Linked DNA regions of Homo sapiens: region 1 is linked to region 2. The links are contacts of gene promoters, found by promoter capture Hi-C in human tissues and cell types (Jung and others, 2019). All regions are on one chromosome and are shown on one strand. Each heading gives the region's core, a stretch centred on a gene start or on the middle of the fragment in contact. The rest is flanking DNA. Distances are from core to core; before and after follow the strand shown. Region 1 holds the start of COL5A3 (collagen type V alpha 3 chain). Region 2 holds the start of ZNF121 (zinc finger protein 121).

The links. Contacts are between HindIII fragments. The study calls those that stand out against the background at their distance.
Region 1: a contact is called between the fragment with the promoter of COL5A3 here and the fragment with the promoter of ZNF121 in region 2, in 1 of the 25 tissues and cell types used here (heart left ventricle).

The regions. Positions count from the first base shown.
Region 1 is chr19:10,009,220-10,015,798 of GRCh38, forward strand. COL5A3 (collagen type V alpha 3 chain) reads right to left here and starts at 1,285. Exons shown (of 67, transcript NM_015719.4): 1 at 1,079-1,285. The coding sequence starts at 1,166. RDH8 (retinol dehydrogenase 8) reads left to right here and starts at 4,264. Exons shown (of 6, transcript NM_015725.4): 1 at 4,264-4,381. The coding sequence starts at 4,279. RefSeq lists an enhancer at 4,885-5,054. The HindIII fragment of the contact is 11,359 bases long and covers 1-5,395 here.
Region 2 is chr19:9,581,289-9,587,665 of GRCh38, forward strand. ZNF121 (zinc finger protein 121) reads right to left here and starts at 3,216. Exons shown (of 4, transcript NM_001008727.5): 1 at 3,173-3,216. RefSeq lists enhancers at 354-1,167, 1,168-1,980, 2,795-3,606. The HindIII fragment of the contact is 2,529 bases long and covers 2,108-4,636 here.

The DNA of each region.
Region 1 (6,579 bases), core at 35-2,534, 430 kb after region 2:
CACCTTAGAAAGGGATTTCCAGGAGGACCTAGTCTAGGGTCTCTCAGATCAGGGAAGCCCCATCTCCAACACTTGAGAAGCTACGCCATCCCCTGACTCCCGAAGCGCCCCCCACTCTGAACCCTGAGGGGCGGGACAGGGCGCCCAGCCAGATGCGCGCAGCTGGGCGTGCGTCAGCGCTGACTCACCCATCCGGCGGCCCCCGGGACCCCTTGGGGGCTCCTGAGAAATTCCTCGGGAAAAACACCCAAGGCTCCAGCAGCTGGGGTGGGGAGGGGGGGAGCAACTTCCACTCCTGCCCCGCCCTGCGCCCCGCCCCGTCTCGCCCCTCACCGCGGCCCTCCCCGAAGCCCTGTCCATGGTGCTGATCGCGGCTCTGGGGACCGCGGGGTGGGGGAGGGGGCAACAGGGAGGGAGGGGAGGAGATGGGCGCTCGCCAATTTGGGGCAGAGGAGGAAAAGGGAGAATGAGGTGAAGCCATTTAAAGAGACGCAAAGGAAACTGTGGGTTCCCGAAGAGCACCCCCCAATACTTGTCCCCACCCACCTTCATCCTCATGGGCAATTATTTGCACCCAAAAATCATAACTACACCCCTCATAGCGGCACTCAGAGACACACAATCACACGCATAACCACTCACACGGTTACCCTCGAAAATCAGCACATAGACAAGAGCACAAGTGCATACTCACCTGTCGCAATACACACCGTCCCAGCACTGCCCTGTCACTCACAGTCACACTATCACCATCAACCTCCACACGCAAGCACATACGCAACTTCACTCCAAATGCACACACATGCTACACACACATACACACATGCACACACCTGCACATTGCATGCATTCCCACGCGCTCGCCAGAAAACGCACTCACACATCCCCACCCCCACCCCGAGCTGTCACACCCACAAATCACCCAGAGTCAGATACTCATGCGCCCACATCACACCGGGGCCGCACGCGGCGCCCACGCCCTTCCCCTCCACGCCCCTCCACCCCCCTCCACCCCTCGCTCTTTTAGAGCCTCTCTGAGTCGTGGACCCTGGGTCCCATCTCTTCCCTCCCGGCTCACCGGCCTGCGTCCCCGGCAGAAGCTGCAGCGCGGCCAGGAGCAGGCAGAGACCGGCCCGCGGCTGGCCCAGGTCCCGGCGGTTCCCCATCCCGGCGGGGCCCACGGGCAAGGCGGGGAACCAGTCGGGGCGGCTGCGGGGCGCGGCGACTTCTCGGGCTCGGTGCAGTCACTCGCGGCGGCCGCTCCTCTCAGGGTCCGCGGGAAACTGCCCGAGACCCCGCCCTGGCCTCGCCCTGCGCTCCAGCGCCTGGCCAGGCGGGGCTTTTTGGAGGGGGAGCGCTGACAGCTGGACTGGGAAGTTGGGAAACTTTGTGCTGAGGGCTGATTGGCTGGCTGGGGTGGAGCCCAGCGCCAGGAGCTGGGTTGTTCCTGCCCCACCCCACTGTGGAGGAGAAGGGTCACTCCCACCCAGCCCTAGAGTTCGAGGGTTCCAGTCTTACCCCAAACCTTTTCCGCCTAGCAGATCCCCTCAAAGGAGACCTTAACCTCATTCAAGACTTCAGCCTCCATCCAGGCCCTAGAATTAGGAGGAGGTGCAGCTTTATACCAAATCTTTTTTATTTTCTATTATTTTTACATTTTATTTTGGAGACAGGGTCTTGATCTGTCACCCAAGCTGGAGTGCAGTGGTGCAATCATAGCTCACTGCAGCCTCCAACTCCTGCGTTCAAGCCATCCACCTGCCTCAGCCTCCTGAGAAGCAGGTACCACAGGCACACACTGCCACACCCAGCTAATTTTAAAATATGTATATTTTGTAGAGACCGGGATCTTGCTATGCTGCCCAGGCCGGTCTTGAACTTCTGGTCTCAAGCGATCCTCCGGCCTTGCCCTCCCAAAGCGCTGGAGTTACAGGCATGAGCCACCGCCCCTGGCACCAAGTCCTTTCTGCCTCACTCAGGCCCCCAACTGGGGTCCCAACCTCACCCCGAACTCTCACTCACCTACCTGCTTTATCCTCAGTCCCTCAGCTGCACAATAGGAGGTACCAGCCTCAGCCCCAAAGCCTTTCCTTCAAGTCCCTAACGGGTCCTCATCCCACCTCAAATCTCACCCCAGATCCCAAAATGGGGTCCCCAGCCTTACTCCAAACCTTCATCTGTCCACTCAAATCCCTAAGTCACGTGTCCTGGTCCCAAATTCTCACCACAGATCCCAAAACACAGTTTTCACTTTCCCCAAATTCTTGATTCCTCAAATAAAGGGTCTCATCTCCATCCCTAACCCTCATCTCCCCCCGCCCCAACTCAGGTCTCCAGTGGATGCCCCGGCCTCAATCCCAAATCCCCACCAAATGAGGGAGTCTGAGCTGGGTGCGGTGGCTCATGCCTGTAATCCCAGCATTTTGAGAGGCTGGGGCGGGCAGATCGCTTGAGTCCAGGAGTTAGAGATCAGCTGGCCAACATGGCGAAACCCCATCTCTACTAAAAATACAAAAATTAGCCAGGCATTGTGACTGGCGCCTGTAGTCCCAGCTACTTGGGAGGCTGAGGTGGGAGGATCACTTGAACACGGGAGGTGGAGGTTGCAGTGAGCTGAGGTTGTGCCACTGCGATCCAGCCTGGACAACAGAGCAAGACTCTGTCTGTCTCAAAAAAAAAGGCCGGCGCGTTGGTGGGAGGTGGTGGGAATCTGTCCCTGTCGCAAAGCAACGCACAGCCACTGGGGAGGAAGGGGTGGATTCTTGCCATTCTTGGGATGAGGCAGAGGCCCCCCTCACCGTGCTGGGACCCCCACCTCCAGCATGAAGAGGCCCCCATGAGGTCAAATAGAGCTTTTATGCAATTGGACAAGCGCAGACACGCAGGATGTGAGGGTGTTTCCCCAGGGAGGGGAGGAACCAAGAGGCGTATTCTGAGCCCTGAACTGCTCCCCGAACCCTGCTTCCCCCACCTCCGCCCCAGGGGAAGAGGGAGACGCAAGCAGTGCCTCCCTCCCAGCCTCTGACTCCCCAGACAAAGAGTCTCTGTGTCCCTGAAGAGGAGGGGTTGGGGCCCCATCAAGCCTGAGGGGGAGATGGGGGCCCCCCAGGGTGGGAGGAGGAGAGGGTATCTCTGTAAGCTGTGCCTCCTCCCACCCCAGGGACATCTGAGGCTGAGACTTCTCCAACTAAAAGACTCTCACAAAATTCCTGCCCTGCCCTGCCTTGCTGGAAGTTCTTCCTATAGTCTAACTACATCTTCTGACAGTTCTACACCCCTTCCCTCTATGAAACACTTCTGGATCCACATTCTCTGTCTCCTTCTCTCACTCTCTCCCTTCAATCAGAGATTCTTCACCCAGAATACAGACACTAATTCCCCCCAACTTTCACAGAAACTCTCCCCAGCCCTAAATAATTTATACTCGGCCAGGCTCAGTGGCTCATGCTTGTAATCCCAACACTTTGGGAGGCTGAGGCGGCTGGACCACTTGAGGTCAGGAGTTCAAGACCAGCCTGGCCAACATGGCGAAACCTCATCTCTACTAAAAATACAAAAATTAGCTGGGTGTGGTGGCACACGCCTGTAATCCCAGCTACTCAGGAGGCTGAGGCAGGAGAATCATTTTACCCTGGAAAGCTGAGGTTGTAGTGAGCCGAAATTGCACCACTGCACTCCAGCCTGGGTGACAAGAGCAAGACTCTGTCTCAAAATAATAATAATAATTTACAGTCATAATAAAAATTATAAATTAAGAAAACAGTTACAAATGGCCAAGGCAGGAGGATCACTTGAGGCCAAGAGTTCGAGACCAATCTGGGCAACATAGCAAGATCCCATGTCTAAAAGAAAAAGAAATTTAAAAATTAGCTGGGCATGGTAGTGTGCGCCGGTAGCCCCAGCTACTCTGGAGGCTGAGATAGGAGGATCGCTTGAGGCTGTGGTGAGCTATGATGGTGCCACTGCACTCCAGCCTGAGTGACAGAGCAAGATGCTGTCTCTTAAAAACAAACAAACAAAAACCAGTGATGTCTATAGTAGGTGCGGAGAAGAAATGTTTGGCAGATGAAGAAAATGAGGTGCAGAGAGGATTTAAGAGATTCTCTCTTACTGCCTGTTCAGGGTCAGTCCAGAATTGAGGGTCTCCGGGGGAGGGCAGAGGCTTTGCCCTGCAGGGGATCTGTGGGAGGGGGTTAGGAGGGAGCAGATGAGCCCAGGATGAATGGTCAGAGTCAGGTGCTGCCCGGCGGAGGTCACGAGTCCAGGGAGGGGATCAACATGGCCGCTGCACCCCGGACTGTGTTGATCTCCGGCTGCTCATCAGGAATTGGTCTGGAACTTGCAGTGCAACTGGCCCATGACCCCAAGAAGCGCTACCAGGGTAAGAAGTGCAGGGTGGCACTAGGAGGCAGCCGGGTGGAAACGGCTTCCCCAGCACTGTCTCCCCTACCCATCCCTCCCAGCTGCACTTGTGGGCTTGGGGAGACCCAGGATTCCCTCCAGGAATCATCCCCTCATCCTAGAAATATTTCTTGAGCATCTTCTGGGTGCTCTGAATGCTGGCAACACAACTGGAGATGAAATAGACAAAAATCTCAGCCCTCAGGACGGGTGTCATGTGGGGAGGAGAGGGAGAATGGGTGATAAACAGATAAAAAGAAATTGTTGCTCTATCTGGTGGGAATAAGTGCTGAGACACAAAATAAAGCATGCTGAGAGTGGCAGGGGGTGGGTGGGGGTTATTTTTAGAAGGGTTTCACTAGGGCATTTCCTAGATTGGAATAATCACTACCCTGATGCTCACTCTTCCACGTCTCCCCAGATTATTGCTTTTACTGAGATAAGCTTCTTAAGTGCTCCTGACCTTGGGGGTTGAAGGGATGGCCTTCTAGTTCTAAGAACTTGCCCTTCTGCACCTCTAGAATAAATCCCTGGGACCTGCATCCTAACCAACCAGGAGAACCCCTGACCCAGAGGGAGCATGCTGGAGTCAAAGTGGGCAAAGGGTTGTTACTTACAAAGAGGCGACTGGGGGTGAGGGCATTGCCCCAGTTGGCAGGGCTGCTTCTCCCAGCCCTCTGCCCTCTGTTTTAGAGACGCACACAGCTTTGAGCATGACAGCCTGAATGCCAGTGTGCAGGGAATAACGTGTGTCCCTATGGGCGGGCAGATGGGTGTATGAAACTGCTGGAGGCTAATGTTTATGGAGCTTTTACAATGCACCAAGCTGCATTCTAAGTGCCCTGAATCCAGGAAGTCATTTAATCCTCACATCACACCCGTGAGGCAGGCACAATCATTCACCCCATTTTATTATTATTTTATTATTTATTTATTTTGAGTCAGAGTCTTGCTCTGTCACCCAGGCTGAGTGCAGTGGTGCATCTTGGCTCACTGCAGCCTCCACTTCCCACGTTCAAGTGATTTTCATGCCTTGACCTCCCGAGTTTCTGGGATTAAGGCATGCACCACCACACCCGGCTAAGTTTTTGTATTTTTAATAGACAAGGTTTCACCATGTTGGCCAGACCGGTCTCGAACTCCTGGTCTCAGGTGATCTGCCTGCCTGGGCCTCCCAAAGTGCTGGGATTACAGGCATGAGCCACCGTGCCTGGCCTGCCCTATTTTAGAAATGAGGAAACTAAGGTGCAGACTGTGAAAGGTCTTTGCTCAAGGTCTCCCAGCTGCAAAGTAGCAGAGCTGGGATTTGAACTCAGGCAGCCCATCCCTTGCACCCATGTTTCCCACTATATCACATGTAGATGCAAGTGACCCCATTCACGTGCCTGCTACCCACAAATCACACTGACCCGAAGACAAGAGGCAAATGCCCCCAGGAGTGTTCATGGGTGATTATGGGTGCACACATTGGGGGATATCAAACACGTATGCTGGTGCATGTGCAGACATAGTACATATGCTGAGGTCCTGCTTAAGAACATAAGCTTGAGGCTGGGCACAGTGGCTCATGCCTGTAATCTCAGCACTTTGGGAGGCCTAGGTGGACAGATCACCTGAGATCAGGAGTTTGAGACCAGCCTGGCCAACATGGTGAAACCCCGTCTCTACTAAAAATACAAAAAATTAGCCAGGCGTGGTGGTGGATGCCTGTAGTCCCAGCTATTCGGGAGGCTGAGGCAGAAGAATGGCGTGAACCTGTGGGGTGGAGCTTGCAGTGAGTCGAGATCATGCCACTGCACTCCAGCCTAAGCGACAGAGCATGACTCTGTCTCAATAAATAAATAAATAAATATACAAAAATTAGCCAGGCATGGTGGCAGTGCCTATAATCCCAGCTACTTGAGAGGCTAAGGCAGGAGAATTGCTTGAACCGGGAGACAGAGGTTGCAGTGAGCTGAGATTTCACCACTGTATTCCAGCCTGGGCACCAAGAGCGAGACTCCGTCTCAAAAAAAAAAAAAAGGGCATAAAAGCTTGGCCAGGTGCTGTGGCTCTCTGGCTCCTCACGCCTGTAATCCCAGCACTTTGGGAGGATGAGGTGGGCAGATCACCTGAGGTTCGAGACCAGGCTGACCAATATGGTGAAACCCCGTCTCTACTAAAAATACAAAAGATTAG
Region 2 (6,377 bases), core at 1,966-4,465:
CCTGATGCAAGTCCTGCCCCTGTACCCTTTCCCTATTGGCCGGGGTCAGGTCGTACAATCTAAACTAATCCCGGTTGGTGAAACACCTGATTTTTTTTAGATAGGGTGGGCACGTAGAAGAAAAGTGGAGAGGAAGGGGAAGGGATGTCTGTAGTGAGCTAGAAAGTCCTCTTTCTAAGTAAGGAAAGGTATGTGAGCTGGTACTGATAACGCTTTGTACTGTGGCATGCCTGGGCATCTAACAAAGGCAAAAAGGAGAAAAAAGGAGAAAAAGGGGGGGTACTATGAATTAGAGAATAAAAGATTGATGAGATTATTTGAAGAGAAACCTCATCATATCCTCATATCCCACAGTGTGACTCTCCAAAAGTCAATATAATATACAATAATAACTGTTCTAGGTAAAAAGACACTGAAAACATTAACAATTGCAATGTAAAAATCTTGAATGGATCTTAAACCCAAAAACATCCAAGAGCATACGTTGAATCAATGCGGAGAATTTTAGTTATTATAAAAAGCAGACATTAGATGACATTATTATTTTTTATTTAAGTGAAATACTAGTATTGTGGTTTCAGAATGACAGTGCTATTTTTTTAGGCGATGCATTACCAAGTATTTAAAGGTCAAGTATCACGTGTGCAATTATGCTCAATTTACACTCAAATTGTTCACCATAAAATGTATTTACCTGAGGTGAAAGAAAACAAGCACAATGCTCAAAAAGTAAGTGTTCAGGCACAGTGGCTCACACCTGTAATCCCAGCATTTTGGGAGGCCGAAGCAGGTGAACTGCCTGAGCTCAGGATTTCGAGACCAGCCTGGCCAACATGGTGAAACCTTGTCTCTACTAAAATACAAAAAAAAATTAGCTGGGCATGGCGGCATGTGCCTGTGTCCCAGCTACTAGGTGTCAGGCCTCTGAGCCGAAGCCAAGCCATCAGACTCCCTGTGACCTGCACGTATACATCCAGATGGCCTGAAGCAACTGAAGAACAACAAGAAGAAGCGAAAATAGCTAGTTCCTGCCTTAACTGATGACATTCCACCATTGTGATTTGTTCCTGCCCCAACCTAACTGATCAATTGACCTTGTGACATTCCTTCTCCTGGACAATGAATCTCAGGAGCTCCCCACTGAGCACCTTGTGATCCCCGCCCCTGCCCGCAAGAGAACAACCTCCTTTAACTGTAATTTTCCACTATCTACCCAAATCCTATAAAACTGCCCGACCCCTATCTCCCTTTGCTGACTCCTTTTCTGAACTCAGTCTGCCTGCACCCAGGTGATTAAAAGCTTTATTGCTCATACAAAGCCTGTTTGGTGGTCTCTTCACATGGACGCACCTAATGCTAGGGAGGCAGGAGAATTACTTGAACCTGGGAGGCAGAGGTTGCAGTGAGCCGAGATCGCACCTCTGCACCCCGACCCGGGTAGCAGAGCGAGACTCTGTCTCAAAAAAAAAAAAAAAAAAACTACTAGACTGGGTGTGTTAGATGTTCAAGTTTTCCCTAGGATCAAATTTTTCAGAAAAAAATGTCAAAACTACACTTAGTCTAAACATGCTGTTAATAAATTCAATAGATACTACTTTATTACACTAATACTAGAATAATATTCTGATTATAAAGCCTCCATCCTGGCCAGGAGCGGAGGCTCACGCCTGTAATCCCAGCTCTTTGGGAGGCCGTCAGGCGGATTACAAGGTCAGGAGTTCGAGACCAGCCTGGCGAGCATGGTGAAACCCTGTCTCCACTAAAAATACAAAAAAAAAAAATTAGCTGGGCATGGTCCCCATGCCTGTTGTCCCTGCTACTCGGAGGCTGAGGCAGGAGAATCACTTGAACCCAGGAGGTGGAGGTTGCAGTGAGCTGAGATCGCGCCACTGCACTCCAGCCTGGGCGACAGAGCAAGACTCCGTCTGAAAAAAACAAACAAAAGCCTCCATCCTTTCTTCCTGTGGGCCCGTTTTGAAGCTCTGTGGGGGGGTACAGACCTAGGAACTTCAGATAAAGACAACAGCTGTGTATTATTGCCTTTCTTTCTTTTTTGAGACGGAGTTTCGCTCTCATCGCCCAGGCTGGAGTGCAGTGGCAGATCTCGGCTCACTGCAACCTCGGCCTCTCAGGTTCAAGCAATCCTCCTGCCTCAGCCTCCCAAGTAGCTAGGATTACAGGGGACTGCCACCAAGCCTGGCTTTTTTTTTTTTTTTTTTTTTTTTGTGTGTGTGAGACGGAGTCTCCCTCTTTTGCCCAGGCTGGAGTGCAGTGGCGCGATCTCGGCTCACTGCAAGCTCCGCCTCCCGGGTTCACGCCATTCTCCTGCCTCAGCCTCCCGAGTAGCTGGGACTACAGGCGCCCGCCATCGCGCCTGGCTAATTTTTTGTATTTTTAGTAGAGACAGGGTTTCACCATGTTGGCCAGGCTGGTCTCGAACTCCTGACCTCAGGTGATCTGCCCGCCTCGACCTCCCAAATGGCTGGGACTACAGGCGTGAGCCAGCGCGCCCAGCCTGCCTTTCTTTTGTAGAAAGGCTTGTAGCTGGTAACAACAAAAAACATTAAGTCCAAGAAAATAAAATAAGAAACTAAAGGCTCACAGTCTACACGTGTTCATATTTACATGCAGATATAGGCACACCCTAAACGACTATTTTTTTTCCATCAGAAAGTAATGTGTCAAAAATAAGAATAGGACATCAATGCCAGATTCTCAGACGAGACATTTTTAAGCAAAGAAATGGAAGTCAGAGCCCTCTTGAAACCAATTTTCTGCAGGTGTTCACCAGGAACATGCCGGAAACGCCAGGTTCCTGAGGCGCGGAAATGCGGGGCCGGAGCCAACCTGACTGGAACGGCAGAAATCCTTTTACTTTCAGAAAGAAAGAAACTCACAAAGGTTGCTTTCCAAGCTTTTGAAGAAGGGAGCACAGCGGATGAAACCACTCCAGAAAACGCGCGGAGTCGGGACAAACACACTTCCCGACCTGGCTCCTGACTGGGACCCACTGAGCCTGCGGCCTCTAGCCACTGGCCGCGCAAGGAGGACCGACAGCCCCTGGAGAAGAGAGTGAAACGAGGCGGATCGGAGAGGCTCCTGGGCGACAGCACCCAATCGTTCCTTTGCCGCCCCCCGCTATCTCCGGGATCCCCAAGCAGGCGGAACTCACCACAGCCAGGGTGGACTCCACCACGATAAAGGCGAAATGGCACTGACCATGCGGAGCCAGCGCCGGAAAAGATGGCGATTGTGCGCTGACGTCACTTCCGCTCCGAGCCTCGGGCCGGGCGGGGCTCCTGGGTTCGAGTTTCAGCCACATAGGACCCAGTCAAACACAGAAATTGTAGTTTCTTCCCGGGTGGGCGCGGACAGGCCCTTACTTGGGGGCGGTTTAGAGGTGGGACCCGGCTAGCCGGCGGTTCAGGTGGCCGGACCTGCTGGAAGGGCGGGCGTGGGGGATGGGACGCACCCCAGGGGATGCTCCTGCAGAGCTTTTCCCAGGTGGGCACAGTGGCTAAGGCCTGTAAGTCCAACACTTTGGGAGGCTAAGGCAGGTGGATAGCTTGAGTCCAAGAGTTCAAGACCAGCGTGGGCAAAATAGCAACATCCTTTATTAAAATATATATGTGTGTATACATATATATAAAGCTTGTTTGTATACATCTCATGTTCCTAGAGCCTTTCCATGATTCTTCCATATGGATAAAGCTGCCAGTGAATGGCATGGTCTATCTCTTCTATTCAGTCAGGCTTTCTGTAGGCCTTTATTTCTTCATTCTTTATTTTTTAGAACCTGCTGGTTCCATTGCGTTTTCTTTTTTCGTTTTTCTTTTTCATTTTTTATTTTTTTTTGAGACAGATCTCACTCTGTTGCCCAGGCTGGAGTGCAGTGGCATGACCTCGGCTCACTGTAACCTCTGCCCCCCGGGTTCAAGTGATTCTCCTGCCTCAACCTCCCGAGTAGCTGGGATTACAGATGTCTGCCTCCACGCCCAGCTAATTTTTGTACTTTTAGTAGAGAAGAGTTTCACCATGATGGCCAGACTGATCTCGAACTCCTGACCTCCAATGATCTGTCTCCCTCAGCTTCCCAAAGTGCTGGAATTATAGACATGAGCCACCGCACCCGGCCACGTTTTCAATATAATAATATTTTCTGTAAATCTTGATTTTTTTTTGTCTTCATCAAGTATGTATTTCTGGCTGGGTATGGTGGCTTATGCCTATAATCCCAGCAATTTGGGAGGCCAAGGGATCGTTTGAGGCCAGGAGTTTGAGACCAGCCTGGGCAATACAGCAAGACCCCGTCTCTGTTTAAAAAAAATTTTAAATATGTTTTTGTTTTTGTTTTGAGATGGAGTCTAGCTCTGTTGCCCAGGCTGGAGTGCAGTGGCACGATCTTGCTCACTGCAACCTCTGCCTCCCGGGTTCAAGCGATTCTTCTCTCTCAGCCTCCTGAGTAGCAGAGATTACAGGCAGGCGCCGCCATGCCCGGCTAATTTTTGTATTTTTAGTAAAGACAGGGTTTCACCATATTGGCCCAGTTGGTCTCGAACTCCTGACCTCATGATCCGCCTGCCTCACCTTTCCAAAGTGCTGGGATTACAGATGTGAGCCACCACGCCTGGCCAAAAACATGTATTTCTATTGTTATTTTTCTGATCTTCCCACATGGGCCAGGACCACATTTCCTACATTGTAAAATAGCACTGACACCAGACATTCTCCCCAGGTTTATTCAGAAATGTAACATAATCCCAGTAAAAATATTAAAAGTTTTTTCTGGAGTTAGGTACGTTGATACTAAAGTTTATGTGGAAGAATAAATATCTGATAATAACCAAGAAAACAAAAACAAAAGCAATGATGAGCAGCAGATGTTAAAACATACTATTAACAGTTTTCACACAAGGCAAATAATTAAATTATATTAAAATAAAAATAAATAAGACATACTATAAAGCCTCTATAATTAAAACTATGTGGTACTAGCACATGAAGCAGAAACAGACTAATAAAATATCTAAAAACAGACCCAAGAACATGTAGGAATTTGGTTCATAAATGTGGTATTTTGCCAGGCGCGGTGGCTCATACCTGTAATCCTAGCAATTTGGGAGGCTGAGGCGGGAGGATCACCTGAAGTCAGGAGTTCGAAACCAGCCTGTCCAACATGGTGAAACCCTGTCTCTAATAAAAATACAAAAATAAAATTAGCCAAGCATGGTGGTGGGCTTTCTGTAATCCCAGCTATTCGGGAGGCTGAGGCAGGAGAATCGCTGAAACCCAGAAGGCAGAGGTTGCAGTGAGCCGAGATCGCGCCACTGGACTCCAGCCTGGGCAACAAGAGTGAAAATCCATCTCAAAAAAAAAAAAAAAAGGTATTTCAGATCAATGAGGCAAAAAAAGCCATTTGTAATGGAAAGTCTAAGACAGCTGGGTAGCCATCAGAGAAAAGATGAAATTAAATCCATACTTCACAGCATATACAAGAATAAACTCTAAATGGACTAGGGATCTAAATGTGAAAAATAAAACCATATACGCATTCAGGGTGTAAGTGATTTCTTGGCTGAGTAAGGAAAAAGACGTGACCACAAGGCGGCAGTAGCACACAAGCTTCATTTGGGATGTGCTTTGACAGGTAAGGAGTGGCGGGAGGTAGCAAACAGCAAGAGAATATCCACAGGCTTCTACCTGTGGGTCGCTGCTCAGAAAGGGTGGAAAGGAAGAAAGACTCCCAGAGGAGAAGGGGAATCAAAGAGGGGGCTTATATGACTAAGTGACGATGCTCAGCAGCCTGGCAGCATATCTTCCAGTTAAAAAGTTCTGAAGGACAAGTCTGGCCAACATGGTGAAACTCCGCCTCTACTAAAAATACAAAAATTAGCCGGGCATGGTGGCGGGCGCCTGTAATCCCAGCTACTCGGGAGGATGAGGCAGGAGAATTGCTTATACCCGGGAAGCGGCGGTTGTATTGAGCCAAGATCGCGCCATTGCACTCCAGCCTGGGCGATAGAGTGAGACTCAGTCTCAAAAAAATAAAAATAAAATATGTAATTATCTGTTCATTCTGAGTACAGGGAAACACTGATAGGACTATCCTGAAAATAATAAGATTCAGAATCTATCGGGGATAGATGGGAAGGGCTTGAACAGAATGGTGGGATAAGAACAAAATGGAGAGGATAGGGATAGGGAAACCTCTCTGAGCATATCATTCTGTTTAGTTCTGATGTTTAAAATCACATTCTACTTTTTTTTTTTCTTTTTGACAGGGTTTCACTCTGTCACACAGGCTGGAGTGTAGTAGCGTTATCATTGCTCAGTGCAGCCTTTACTTTGTGAGCTCAAGTAATCCTCCTGCCCAAGTA